Linked DNA regions of Homo sapiens: all the other regions are linked to region 4. The links are contacts of gene promoters, found by promoter capture Hi-C in human tissues and cell types (Jung and others, 2019). All regions are on one chromosome and are shown on one strand. The core of a region is centred on a gene start or on the middle of the fragment in contact, and the rest is flanking DNA. Distances in the headings are between cores, read along the strand shown.

Region 1 (3,191 bases), core at 240-2,739, 500 kb before region 4:
GTCTGCGGGGGTCAGGGCCTGCCTCCTCTTCCTCAGTTGGAGTGAATTTGGGGTCTGACTGAGGGCCTCGGCCATCGTCAAATGTGACAAACACAGGCCCTCCCCAGAGACCGCGTCTCCAGGAAGCACCTGCTCCTCTGGGTTTCGCTGCAGTCACCTGAGCAGGTGCTGGGCCACCGAGCACTTCCATCACACAGTGGCTGGCGGCGGAGCCTTGGGTCGTTTTCTGAAGGTCACCAACCCTTTGGCATCAGAGCAGGCAGAGCCTTTTGCATCCCCGCCAGTCCCCTTGCCCAGGTGGCCCCGGGCAACCTCCACCCTCAGGCACCCGGTCCCAGTTCTGTTTACAGCTTCTCTTTTCCTGGCTTCTTTCCCCATATTGACAAGATTTCAGTCTTAGGTTGGTCTTGTCTGCTGTGCTGCTCTGAGGAAGCCTCTCGGCTCCTGGGTGTGCAAGAAGCCAAGGGCAGCCCCTTCCCTGTGAGCGTGCGTGTCCACACGCGTGTGCAGGTGGCACAGAGCATCCAGGGCTGTCATCAGCTGCTTCTGGACCGCCCAGGTGGCTGCTTGGGAGTTTACCGTCACGGCAGTCCTGTGCTGCCGTGGAAACGCGGGGTTGCCGTGTGGCCGCCGTGGAAACGCGGGGTTGCCGTGTGGCCGCCGTGGAAACGCGGGGTTGCCGTGTGGCCGCCGTGGCGCGGCAGCCATCGCCTGCCCGGTGCTGATTGTGCCTCCTGTGTGCCCTTCTCCTGTAGAATTCTCTGGTGGTTGAGATCCCGCCATTTCGGAATCAGAGGATAACCAGCCCCGTTCACGTCAGTTTCTACGTCTGCAACGGGAAGAGAAAGCGAAGCCAGTACCAGCGTTTCACCTACCTTCCCGCCAACGGTAACGCCATCTTTCTAACCGTAAGCCGTGAACATGAGCGCGTGGGGTGCTTTTTCTAAAGACGCAGAAACGACGTCGCCGTAAAGCAGCGTGGCGTGTTGCACATTTAACTGTGTGATGTCCCGTTAGTGAGACCGAGCCATCGATGCCCTGAAAAGGAAAGGAAAAGGGAAGCTTCGGATGCATTTTCCTTGATCCCTGTTGGGGGTGGGGGGCGGGGGTTGCATACTCAGATAGTCACGGTTATTTTGCTTCTTGCGAATGTATAACAGCCAAGGGGAAAACATGGCTCTTCTGCTCCAAAAAACTGAGGGGGTCCTGGTGTGCATTTGCACCCTAAAGCTGCTTACGGTGAAAAGGCAAATAGGTATAGCTATTTTGCAGGCACCTTTAGGAATAAACTTTGCTTTTAAGCCTGTAGTCCTGATGTGGTCTTTAAGGATGGTGAATGAGCTTTGTGCTGGGCGGACGTCCCCGAGACACTTCTCCAGGGGTAACTTCATCTCCTGGGACCACGGGCATCCAGGCTGGGGCACCTTCTCCTCAACCTGCCTGCCCCTCACCCGCCGTGGGAATGGCTCCTTTTCACTCATACAAAAAAAAAAAAAAATCATCTTACCTTTTTAACCTTTAGGGTGTTTTCTTAAAGAAAATACCATCCAGTTTGTTTCTTCAGTCCCTGAACCAGTAGAAGAGAAAGGCGTCCCCCACGCCATCCCCGGCTTCCTTTGTGGGTACAGGCCACTCCCCCCAGCTCGGAGAGGACAGAATTAGCAGTCATCCTGAATTTTACTGTATTTTGTGGGTACAGGCCACTCCCCACAGCTCGGAGGGGACAGTTAGCGGTCATCCTGAATTTTACTGTATTTTGGGTAAGCTTAGCTAACATCAATAATCTTTTTATATTGCTTTTTTTCTAAAAACTGCAGAGATTCCTGTCATCTGAGAGGGAAATTACACACTGGGCGCTAATTGCAAAAGCAGCTGCGTTCTCTTAGTAAAATCAGGGTGTTTTGGAAGGTTTCCATTTTCTCTGAATGTAAACAGCATTTGTAATAGACCAGATCCTAAGGAAGCCCTTGAATCCCCACGTTCACACCAAACTGTTGGGACTCCTTGTTTTTATCAGGCAAGCTCTGGAAAGGCCTCTCAAGATGTGGAAAATGGGGTTTTGCTGTAAAGTCGCTGTACCCTAAGAGTGTCTGTGAGACAGAGCTGCAGGGGTGATGTGCAGCCCCCAGCCCAGCCCTCGCGGGGAAGAGCCTCACGCTCTGTGACCCCCAGGATTGTGGGGAGGGCCTCATGCTCTGGGACCCCCGGGATTGTGGGGAAGAGCCTCATGCTCTGGGACCCCCGGGATTGTGGGGAAGGGCCTCACGCTCTGGGACCCCCAGGATTGTGGGGAAGAGCCTCACGCTCTGGGACCCCCGGGATTGTGGGGAAGAGCCTCACGCTCTGGGACCCCCGGGATTGTGGGGAAGGGCCTCACGCTCTGGACCCCCCTGGGGTTTACGTGGTCTGTGCCGCCCACACTTAGTGAGTCCAGCCCATTCTTGGAACAAAGTACAATATATCTTACAGAAGAAAATATTTTATCTTTTTCTGAAAATATAATGATTGAGTCCTAATTAAACTTCAAGCATGGTTGACCAGAAATTGAATGTTTTAAAGAAAACCTAGGCCTTATAGAGAAGGATTGCTTTCCAGAGCAGTGCATTAATTTTTTTCTTATTTGCTCAGCATGCGGCAGTCCCCACCGTGGGTTTGAGCAGCACTGACTTTAGCACAGATCACGTATCTCAGAGGCAGAAGGGGCGTGCGGGGAGCGTGCCTGCCCTTCACAGGTGGGAGGTGGCGGCCCCCAGGACCGTGGCCACAGCATGAAGCCGGTGGGGCTGAGCCGCTCCTGCTACCTCCAGTCCACACCCCACCTGGCAGCCGGCCGTCCTGTCCTACCAGCCACACTCCTGCCTCGATTGGCCCCGGCTCCCCTCTCAGCATTGTGCCCAGCGTGGACATCTCTCCTGCACCCCCTGCCCAGTGTCTCGGCTGCACCCTCCACCCCCCATCTGCTCCAGCATGGCTCAACGCAGGCCAGGTTCCCCAGGCTCACCCTGGGCACCAGCCTTCGCCCGTTCTCCCTCTCTTTGCCTCCGTCGTCTCTTCTCTCCTGGACGTAGCACCATAGTCCCTGGGTGACCATCCCAGGTCCCCACAAGCACACTGACCAGCCCCACCAGCCCCCAGGGGCTCCCCGGCTCCCTGTCACCCCACCTGGTCCTGGGGGCTGCGACCGCAACCTG
Region 2 (3,227 bases), core at 523-3,022, 460 kb before region 4:
GGTGATCCCTAGGCAGCCTGGCTTAAAGACAGAAACAAGATTTAAAAACAGAGAGAACAGAAAACTCAGTGTCCACATTCTGCAAGGAATACAGCATCTAGATAATTAGTCCAGGAAAGTCATGAGTCACATAAGCAACAACCAAGGAGAGGGGAAGCCGAGAAACAACAAGTCCTATTTGGAGGGGGATGGGGGGGGGGGAATCTCATTTCAGAGTCGCTACAATGCATTAGTTGTCATCTCCAGTTGTAAACCAAAAAATTATAGTACATGCAAGAAAACATGAAAATATGTCCCATCCACAGGAAGAAAAATCTGTAGCCCCTGAGAGGGCTCAGGTATTAGACCAGCAAAGGCTTTAAATCAGCTGCAATAAATATGCTCAAAGAACTGAAAGAAATTGTATTTAAAAAATTACAGGGGAGTGTGGCAAATATATCTTACCAGATAGAGAATATCCATAATGAGATTTTTAAAAAAAAAAAAAAAGAAGCCAAATAGAAATTACACAGTTGAAAAGTAAATGAAAAATGCATTAGAGAGGCTGAACAACAGATTTGAGCTGGCAGAGAAAAAGAATCAAACGTAAAAATCAACAGATTATTTAGACTGAGGAACAGAAAGAAGAAAGAATCAATAAAAATGAACAAAGCCTCAGAGCATGTGAGATGCTGTAAACACATATACACATGCATAATGAGTTATAGAAAGAGATGATTAGAAGAAATACGTGAAGAAATAATGGCCCCAAACTTCCTAAATTTGATGGAAAACATTATTCAGTGCATCCAAATGGTTCACAAAATTCAAATGGGATAAATTAAAAGCAGCTCACACACAGACATAAACCAAACTGTTGAAAGTCAAAGGGAGAGACAATCCCGAAAGCAGTGAGAGGAAAACAGCTTCTCAGTACGTGGGATGCTCAGCAGGATTAACAGCCAGCTGCTTATTGTGAATCGTGGATGTCGGAGGACAGTGGGACGGCGCATTCAAAATGCTGAAAGAAAACCACTGTCAACCAAGAATTCTATATCTAGTAAAACTCATCTTTAGAGATGAAGAAACAAAGCTGTGCTCAGATAAACAAGACACACAGAATTTGTTGCCAACAGACCTGACCTACAGGACATATTAAAGGGAGTCCTTCAGGCTGAGGTAAGAAGCACTGGTGAGAGTAATTACATAGGTGAATTAAAAAGACAGCACAAACATGTTTTAAACTTTTCTTCTCTGAACTGATGTAAAAGGAAACTGCATAAGACACGATTGCAAACCTGTGCTGATAACAATGTGCTTATAACAATTTGTGTGACAGTAGCACAAAGGAAGGGGTGGGGAAGGAAGTTACAGCAAAGCAAAGTCTTTACATATTATTAGAACTCAGTATTCATCTGAAATAGACTGTTTTGACTAAGATGCTTGTTGTAATCTCCAGAGGAACCACTAAGAAAATATATATGTGTGTGAGTGTGTCACACACACACATAAAATGTCAAAAAATGCACTTAAATGATACACTAGAAAATATGTGTGTAACACAAAATAAGCCAGTAATGAAGGAACATAGAAACAATGACAACAGCAAAAGTTACACAAGACATGTAGAGAACAAATAGCAAAATGGAAAACATAATCCTACCGTATCAATAATCACATTAAATGTCAGTGGAATAAACACCCCAATAAAAAGGTAGATGTTGTCAGACTGGATGTTAAAGACAGAATGAAACAGGGTACAACCATATGCTGTCTAAAAAATACATATTTTAGATTTAAAGACACAAATAGGTTGAAAGTAAAATGATAAAGAGATACTGTGCAATAGTAATCAAAAGAGATATGGAGATAATGGAAAAAATACATACTTCAGATTTAAAGACACAAATAGGTTGAAAGTGAAAGGATGAAAAAGATAGGCAGAGTTAATGTAGAAATTTGGAGTAGCTACACTAATATCAGACAAATTAAACTCTAAGATAAAAATATTACTAGAAACAATGAACTGTCAGTAGTCATGTTCTCTTTGATCTTAAACCTGATACATTGAACAGGAAGATATAAACACATTTGCACATAACAGAGCCCCATAATACATGAAACAAGAACTGACAGAATTAAAGGGAGAAATACATAGTTGAAAAATAATAGCTGGAGACCAGTATATCACTCTTAATGGATAGAACAACTAGACAGAAAATCAAAAGGATATAAAACACTTAAGACTATCAACCAACTTTACAAGACATCTGTAGGACACTCTACAGAGTGCACATAGGATAGACTTCCTACTATGCCATAAAACAAGCCTTAATAAATTTCAAAATATTCTGATTGCAATGGATATCAATTGAAAATCAACAACAGATATTTCCACAAATATTTGGAAACTAAACAACACATTTCTAAATAATTAATGAGTGAAGTTAGAAAGTATAAGGGAAATTGGAAAATATTTTGAACTAAATGCAAATGAAAACACAACATATCAAAATTTGTGGGATGCAGGTAAGGCAGTGCTTAGAGGGAAATTTATAGCTTTAAATGCCTATATGAGGAATAAGATGGATTTCAAATCAATAATCTAAGCTTTTTCCTTAAAAATGTTGAAAAAGGAGAGAAAAAACCCAAGGCAAGTGGAAAAAAGGAAATGCTGAGGATGAGAAGAAAAAGCAATGAAATAGAAACATGAGAAAAATCAATAAAACCAAAGTTAGTTATTTGAAAAAACAACAAAATTGACAAAACTTTAATGAGTTTTTCTAACAAGAAAAATTAGGAATGAAAGAGGGGACATTGCTACTGACCCTGCAAAAATCAAAAGGTTATAAGGGAATACTATAACCTTATGCCAACAGATTAAACAACCTGGATGAAATGGAAACATTCTTAGACACGAATTACCTAAACTGACTCAGGAAGAAACAGAAAAGTATAATAGACCTATAGCAGGGAAATAAAAGAAATTAATAATTTAACATATTCTCACAAAGAAAAGCCCAGACCCAGAGAGCTTTACTGGTTAATTTTATTAAACATTACAAGAATAATACCAGTGCCAATACTCCACAAACTCTTCAGAAAATGAAGAAGGAACACTTCTAATACTGAAGCCAGTATAGCCCTAATACCAAAATCAAAAGTATCGTAAGAAAAACTATAGAAAAATATTCTTTATGAACACAGGAGCAAAAATCCACAACAAAATATTATCAAACTGAATCCAA
Region 3 (2,916 bases), core at 205-2,704, 290 kb after region 4:
ATGAACAGCACTGTAGGCAATGAAGGTGGGAGTGGGGTCCACCCAGTAAGCTCGGGGCTTTGGAGTGGGAAGACGCCTTTTAAAGGAAAGGCTGGAAGGCTACGGAATTTCAAGTAGCCCTAGACTTGGCTCTGGACCAGGTTGATGAGAGTGAGATCACTTTGTCAATGCCTGTGGCTCAGAGTGTGGTGTAAGGCCCAAAATCTGCTCCACCTGGCACTTGTTAGCAATACCCCACCCAGACCCACTGAATCAGAATCCGCACTTGAACAAGATCCCCAGGTGATTCATGTCCACACTGAAGTTTGAGAGGTGCTGCTCCTTTATCTTAATCATCTGTTGCTCCACAGTTCTTGATTGGCATGATCTGCAGGCAAAAGCAGGAGGAAAGGCTGGGAAAGCTTGCTGTTGCGTGTGGAGCTTGAGTTTCCAGCTGAGACTTGAACTGGATTTGCTAGGGCTTTGAGCTCTAGGTTCAGGCGGGTATAGACCAAAAAAAAATTAACTGAGCCTTCAGCTGGAAAGGCTTTTACACAGTACAGCAGCCAGATTGGAAAAAACAAAAGCCCTCTCCTACCAGACACAGTGGCTCACACCTGTAATCCCAACACACTGGGAGGCTGAGGCTGGAGGATTGCTTGAGGCCAGGAGTTTGAGACTAGCCTAGGCAACATGGTGAAACCCTGTCTCTCCAAAAAAAAAAAAAAATTAGCTGGGCATGGTGGGACACACCTATAGTCCCAGCTACTCAGGCGGCCAAGGTGGGAGAATTGCTTGAGCCCAGGAGGTCGAGGCTGCAGTGGGCTATGATTGTGCCACTGCACTCCAGCCTGGGTGACAGAGAGAGACCTCATCTAAGCAAAAAGAAGGGAGTGGGGGAGGAAAAGGAAAAGAAGAAAGAAAGAGAAAAGAAAGGAGAGAGAGAAAAGACTCCTCAGATCCTGGCCTGATAGCCTGCCTTTTCACACAACTGGGGGTCATGGGAGCCTCTGAGAGGCTGACTTGTTTCAGACAGAAAATGAGAGAGAAAATAGGAATGGGTAGGGGTTAAATCTTCCTCAAATCACGGCTTCTAAGAACCCATCTAATAACTGAACCATCAGGAGCAAAAAGGAAGTATGTTGTGGACCCAGTAAAATGTATTCCTTGACTGGGTGCAGTAGCTCAAGCCTGTAATCCTAGCACTTTGGAAGGCCCCTCTGCAGTGGCTCATGCCTGTAATCCTAGCACTTTGGAAGGCCCCTCTGCAGTGGCTCATGCCTGTAATCCTAGCACTTTGGAAGGCCAAGAGGGGCAGATTGTTTGAGACTGGGGAGGCTGAGGTGGGAGGATTTCTTGAGACTGGAAGGTCGAGTGTGTGGTGAGCTGTGATCATGCCACTGCACTCCAGGGCATAGCAGAGTGAGACCCTGTTGAAAAAAAGATGAGAGCAGGTTCTTTTATGATGAGAGCAGGCTCTTTTATGATGAGAGCAGGCTCTTTTATGATTGAACATTTGTTGCTGATGTATATGTTCTAAGAAAACATTCTCTAAGATAATTTCGTTGGGTAATAGGAAAGCATCGCTGTAATATTTGAACCAGCAGGCTGTTGCATTTGCAATGCATTCTAATATATTTTCGGATGAGGCAGGCAAAGAACTGATATTCGATTGAAATAAGGAAATGGCAGAGTAGTTATGCCTCATTATCACCTGATTCTCATATAAAGGCATCCCTTCTTTTTACCCTTTACTCTTCCCCTGCTCAAAGAGGCCTCTTCTGCCTTTTTTAAAAATTTTCATTTTTGAGATGGAGTTTCATTCTTGTTGCCCAGGCTGGGGTGCAATGGCGCGATCTTGGCCCACTGAAACCTCCGCCTTCCGAGTTCAAGCGATTCTCCTGCCTCAGCCTCCCAAATAGCTAGGACTATAGTCATGTGCCACGACGCCCGGCTAATTTTGCATTTTTAGTAGAGACAGGGTTTCACCATGTTGTCCATGCTGATCTCGAATTCCTGACCTCAGGTGATCCACTCGCCTCGGCCTCCCAAAGTGCTGGGATTATAGGTGTGAGCCACTGTGTCTAGCCTCTTCTGCCTTTTTGATGCAGTAATATCTTGACTCTCAATGGAAGCTTCATGCCTAAATTGACTTACCAGTAGCTCTTTCAGCAGATGGCACCGTTGGCCAGAATAGAATGAATTCCCTGCATTCCAGAGCCATCTGCCCACATCCTACAAAGTGGCCCTGGTTGCATCCCCTAGATTGGTGCAAAGGGCTCTCTCCTCAACCAGCTTGCGGTGTGACCTGCATGTCCACCCCCAGGTGGAAGACAAAAGGCAGGTGGTAAACCTTACGCAGCTGTCTCTGACTTTGCATTAAAACTCTGGGACACTTTTACAAAATACAAATAAAAGCACCTAGAACATGAAGCACAGTCTTTGTTCCAAGTATTACACTAAGCATGGATTAGAGTCTCAGGATCTGTTTTAAAAAGAGTCAGTCCGTAAAGCTTTTCACTGACTTGGTGAATGTATCAGAATGTGATTTTATGGCAGAAAAGCGTGGTCAGTTTTCAGCCACACAGCATCCATTCATCAGCATGATTCATCTCCTCGTGCACACTCCCAAAGCATTTCAGAGGTTCAAAGCAGTTGCAGGCCCTACTGATTTCCTATTAGATGAAACTGCATGCTTTTCCTCTTGTCTATTTCAGCATGGTTTCTTGGTGGTCCAGTTTACGGCCATCTCCAAGATAATGTCTCTGATTCATCAAATTCTGCCATGGTGGCGGCCTGTACCGGGCCCTGGCAATACAAACATTAAGGAAGCACTCATGTCTTCTGGCCTTGAGGTCTTAGCCAAAGCAAGAATCCTGAAGCTAGGTGTGAAGAGTTCATTCACTCTAAATGGATATGCATCAACTCCTTATTCTT
Region 4 (3,193 bases), core at 694-3,193:
GGCAAAATGGCCATGCTTTTAAAAAATAATTTTAACAGCTTCATTGAAATGTAATTCACATACCACAAAACCCACCCATTTAAAGGGCATAATTCAACAGTTTTGAGTATATTTACAGGGTTGTGAAACCTTCTTACGATCTAATTTTAGAACATTTTTGTCCCCCCACAAAGAAACCCCAGACCTCCTAAATCTCTCCGCACTCTCCCTCGTCCCTGCAGCCCCCAGCAACAGAAGTCAACTTTCTGTCTCCGTGGCCTTGCCTGTTCCAACTCTCCATGGACTTACCACTCAGGGTCTTCACGCCTGGCCTCTGCCACCCAGCGTTGTTCCGGAGGCCCGCCTGCTTCGTAGCGTGCGTCAGCGCCTCACTCCTTTGTGTGGCTGAGGAATATTCTATCATCTGCATTTTGTCACCTACTTATTGGGGGTGGACATTTGGGTGGTTTCCACCTTTTGAGCATTACTGATGCTGCAGTAGACTTGGTGCACTCGCGCTGTCGTTTCGGTATATGCCTAGGGGTGGCGCGGCTGGGCCCTGTGGAAACTGCTTCACTTCTGAGGACCCACCCGACTTTTTCACAGCACTGCAGCCTTTCACAGCCCACCGGCTGCGTGGGGGGGGCCACAATCCCCACACGCCTCTCGGACTTACGTTTGTCTCTCTGATTCTAGCCATGCTGGTGGGTTGCAGTGGGAGCTCATTGTGGTTTTGGTTTGTGTTTTCCTGATGACTGGTTGTAATGAGAAAAACCGAGAATCACATTTAAAACCTTACCCTAAAGTGGGAGTTGCTGAGAGACCAAAGAATGACTGGGCGGAGTCCAGCTTGGTGAGTAGGTGAGTTTATTAGGACTCACATGTGGGGCACTCGTGGGCAGCAGGACAACTCTAGAGATGAGCGTGCTTCTGTCCCTAAGCTGCTTTTGAGCTAATTTTCTGCCTCTTTGCGCCGTCTGTGTGATGGGCCTGCTCCCTGTGGTGGTTCTCACATCCCCTCCGGGCTGTTTGGGTTCTCAGGGACACCTGCTCCTCGCTGGGCACCGTGGCCTGGACTCACCGCCTGGCCTTTAGGGTTCAGGCCACAGACATCCGCCCTGAAGTAACCTGGCGGGAACCGCCACGCCACAGCGGTGGTGCTGGGTGGCTGTGTTTTATTTATCCGCACATGGAGACACCAGAGCTTCCAGGTGTGGTCACTGGGCTGTGCCCTAGGGATGCTGGGGTGACCAGACATAGCCCTGTTCCCACAGCGCTGCACAGGGGCACAGACATGGCAACAAGACTGGTAACCCTAAAACACCGTCCTGGGAGGTCACCCACAAGGTGACGAGCCACAACCCAGGTGTGAAAGAGGCCAGGGAAGGCCCGGCGTGGTGGCCCAGGCCTGCGGTCCCAGCACTTTGGGAGGCCGAGGCAGGAGGATCACTTGTGCCCAGGAATTCGAGACCAGCCTGGGCAACATAGTAAGATCCCGTCTCTACAAAAAATAAAAAAGATCAGCCGGACCTGGTGGCGCGCGCCCGTGGTCCCAGCTACTGGCCAGGCCGAGGCAGGAGGATCGCTTGGGCCCGGGAAGTCGAGGCTGCGGGGAGCCATAGTCGCCACTGCACCCCAGCCTGGGCCACAGAGCGAGCCCCCGTCTCTGAGAAACGCAGCAGGGGTGACCGAGGCCCATGCACTGCCCGTGCGGAGCGTTTTGGGGGTGTAGGTGGCCGGTGGCGCCCACGGGCCCTCTTGAGTAAGGCGGCTCCGCCCAGGCCGTCCCGGGGCCTCGGCTCGGCTCGGCTCGGGAAGCCGCAGAGCCTGGGGGCGCGGACCAGTCCTCCGAGGCGGCCGCTCGGTGACATTGCGTCCCTGCAGGTGCAGCGCCCGCCTCTCCGCTCCGGCCCCGCCTCCGCCCTGGAACGCAGCGCGCTCCGCCCGAGGCCTCCCGGCGGCCCATACGGGAATCGCGGAGCTTAGCTGTCGCCACCTCGCGCCGGGTCCGCGCGGCCCACGGGACCCCCCACTGACGCCCCCGGCCAGCGGTCCACATGGACGTGCGGGGCCCTGAAGCCCCCGGCGGGCGCGCGCTGCGGGACGCGGTGAGCCCCTCCCCGACTCCTGCTTCTCTCTGGATGGGGGCGCCCCTGCGGTTCTGGGGGGTTTTGAGGTCCTGGGGGGGGAGCCTGCGGTGCTGGGGGTGCCCTGCGGTCTTCGTGGGGCCCTGAGGTCCTGGGGGGCCTGCGATCCTGAGGACTCCTGTGGTCCTGAGGAGTCCTGAGTGCCTGGGAGGCCTGTGGTCCTGGGGGGGCCCCTGAAGACCTGGGGGACCCTGCGGTCCTGGGGGGGCCTGAGGTGCAGGGGGGAGCCCTGCTGTCCTGGGGGACCCTGCGATCCTCGGGGGGCCTGAGGTCCTGGGGGGAGCCCTGCAGTACTGGGGGGCATTGAGGTCGGGGTCAGTGGGGAAACAACTGGGCCAAAGGGTGCCCGAAAGGGGACCCACGAGTGTCGCAGCGCCCAGGGCTCCGGCCTCTTCCGGGAAATCCTCCCGCTCCCCAGGCCTTCCTACTTGCCAAAGAGTTCCAGGCCCACAAGAGGACTGGCTATGAGGAAGAGACCTGGAATCTGAAGGAATGTGTTGGGCGTTGTGCAAACCCTAACGTAAATTTCCTGACAAAGGTAGAAAGCCCTGGCATGGTTCAGAGGTGGGGCCTCCTCCTATGTCGACGGGATTCTAGATTCACACCATGGTACGTGGGGCTCCCTGGGATCTTGAACCCCCAGCTGGGAGAATTTTGTGCTTCTCAGCCTCACTGTTCTCATCTCACCCTGGACACGGTCGCAGGGTGAGGAGTAGATTACACCGTGAATGGTGTGGGACGTCAGTCTGTAAACTACAAAGCAGTATATAAACAGGAAACGCTTTCAGTAGCAATGGTGGTATTTCTGTGTGACCTGGTAAGTAATTTCATAAGAATTCTTGAGGAGCGCAGGGTCACGAGATTTTCTCCTGCATCCTCCTCTGCATGCTTTATGGCCTTGGCTCTGGGCCAAGGTGTGTGATCTCCTGCATTCATGGTGTGTGGTGTGAGGAGGGGGATGGGTCCCTGCCCCGTCTGCACGTGGCCCTCATGATTCCCGCGCTGCTTGTTGAAAAGACTTTCCTTTCCCTCTGAATCCAAAGGCCTTAGCACCTTTGTCAGAAGTC

The links. Contacts are between HindIII fragments. The study calls those that stand out against the background at their distance.
Region 1: a fragment that was not itself captured here is called in contact with the fragment with the promoter of HSBP1L1 in region 4 in 2 of the 25 tissues and cell types used here (heart left ventricle and lymphoblastoid cells).
Region 2: a fragment that was not itself captured here is called in contact with the fragment with the promoter of HSBP1L1 in region 4 in 2 of the 25 tissues and cell types used here (IMR-90 fibroblasts and spleen).
Region 3: a fragment that was not itself captured here is called in contact with the fragment with the promoter of HSBP1L1 in region 4 in 2 of the 25 tissues and cell types used here (IMR-90 fibroblasts and lymphoblastoid cells).

What each region holds. Positions count from the first base shown.
Region 1 is chr18:79,466,695-79,469,885 of GRCh38, forward strand. It overlaps NFATC1 (nuclear factor of activated T cells 1), which reads left to right. Exons shown (of 10, transcript NM_001278669.2): 8 at 756-888. It overlaps LOC107985162 (a long non-coding RNA gene), which reads right to left. Exons shown (of 2, transcript XR_001753518.2): 2 at 2,625-3,191. Among named protein-coding and RNA genes, the nearest start is that of NFATC1, 72 kb to the left of the region's middle. The HindIII fragment of the contact is 4,601 bases long and covers 1-3,191 here.
Region 2 is chr18:79,497,877-79,501,103 of GRCh38, forward strand. The region is part of intron 9 of NFATC1 (nuclear factor of activated T cells 1); the gene reads left to right. Among named protein-coding and RNA genes, the nearest start is that of NFATC1, 100 kb to the left of the region's middle. The HindIII fragment of the contact is 8,968 bases long and covers 1-3,227 here.
Region 3 is chr18:80,249,698-80,252,613 of GRCh38, forward strand. No RefSeq gene overlaps it. Among named protein-coding and RNA genes, the nearest start is that of PARD6G, 3.6 kb to the left of the region's middle. The HindIII fragment of the contact is 3,076 bases long and covers 1-2,916 here.
Region 4 is chr18:79,962,700-79,965,892 of GRCh38, forward strand. It overlaps HSBP1L1 (heat shock factor binding protein 1 like 1), which reads left to right and starts at 1,944. Exons shown (of 4, transcript NM_001136180.2): 1 at 1,944-2,087. The coding sequence starts at 2,037. RefSeq lists an enhancer at 426-505 and a silencer at 1,601-2,170. The HindIII fragment of the contact is 12,330 bases long and covers 1-3,193 here.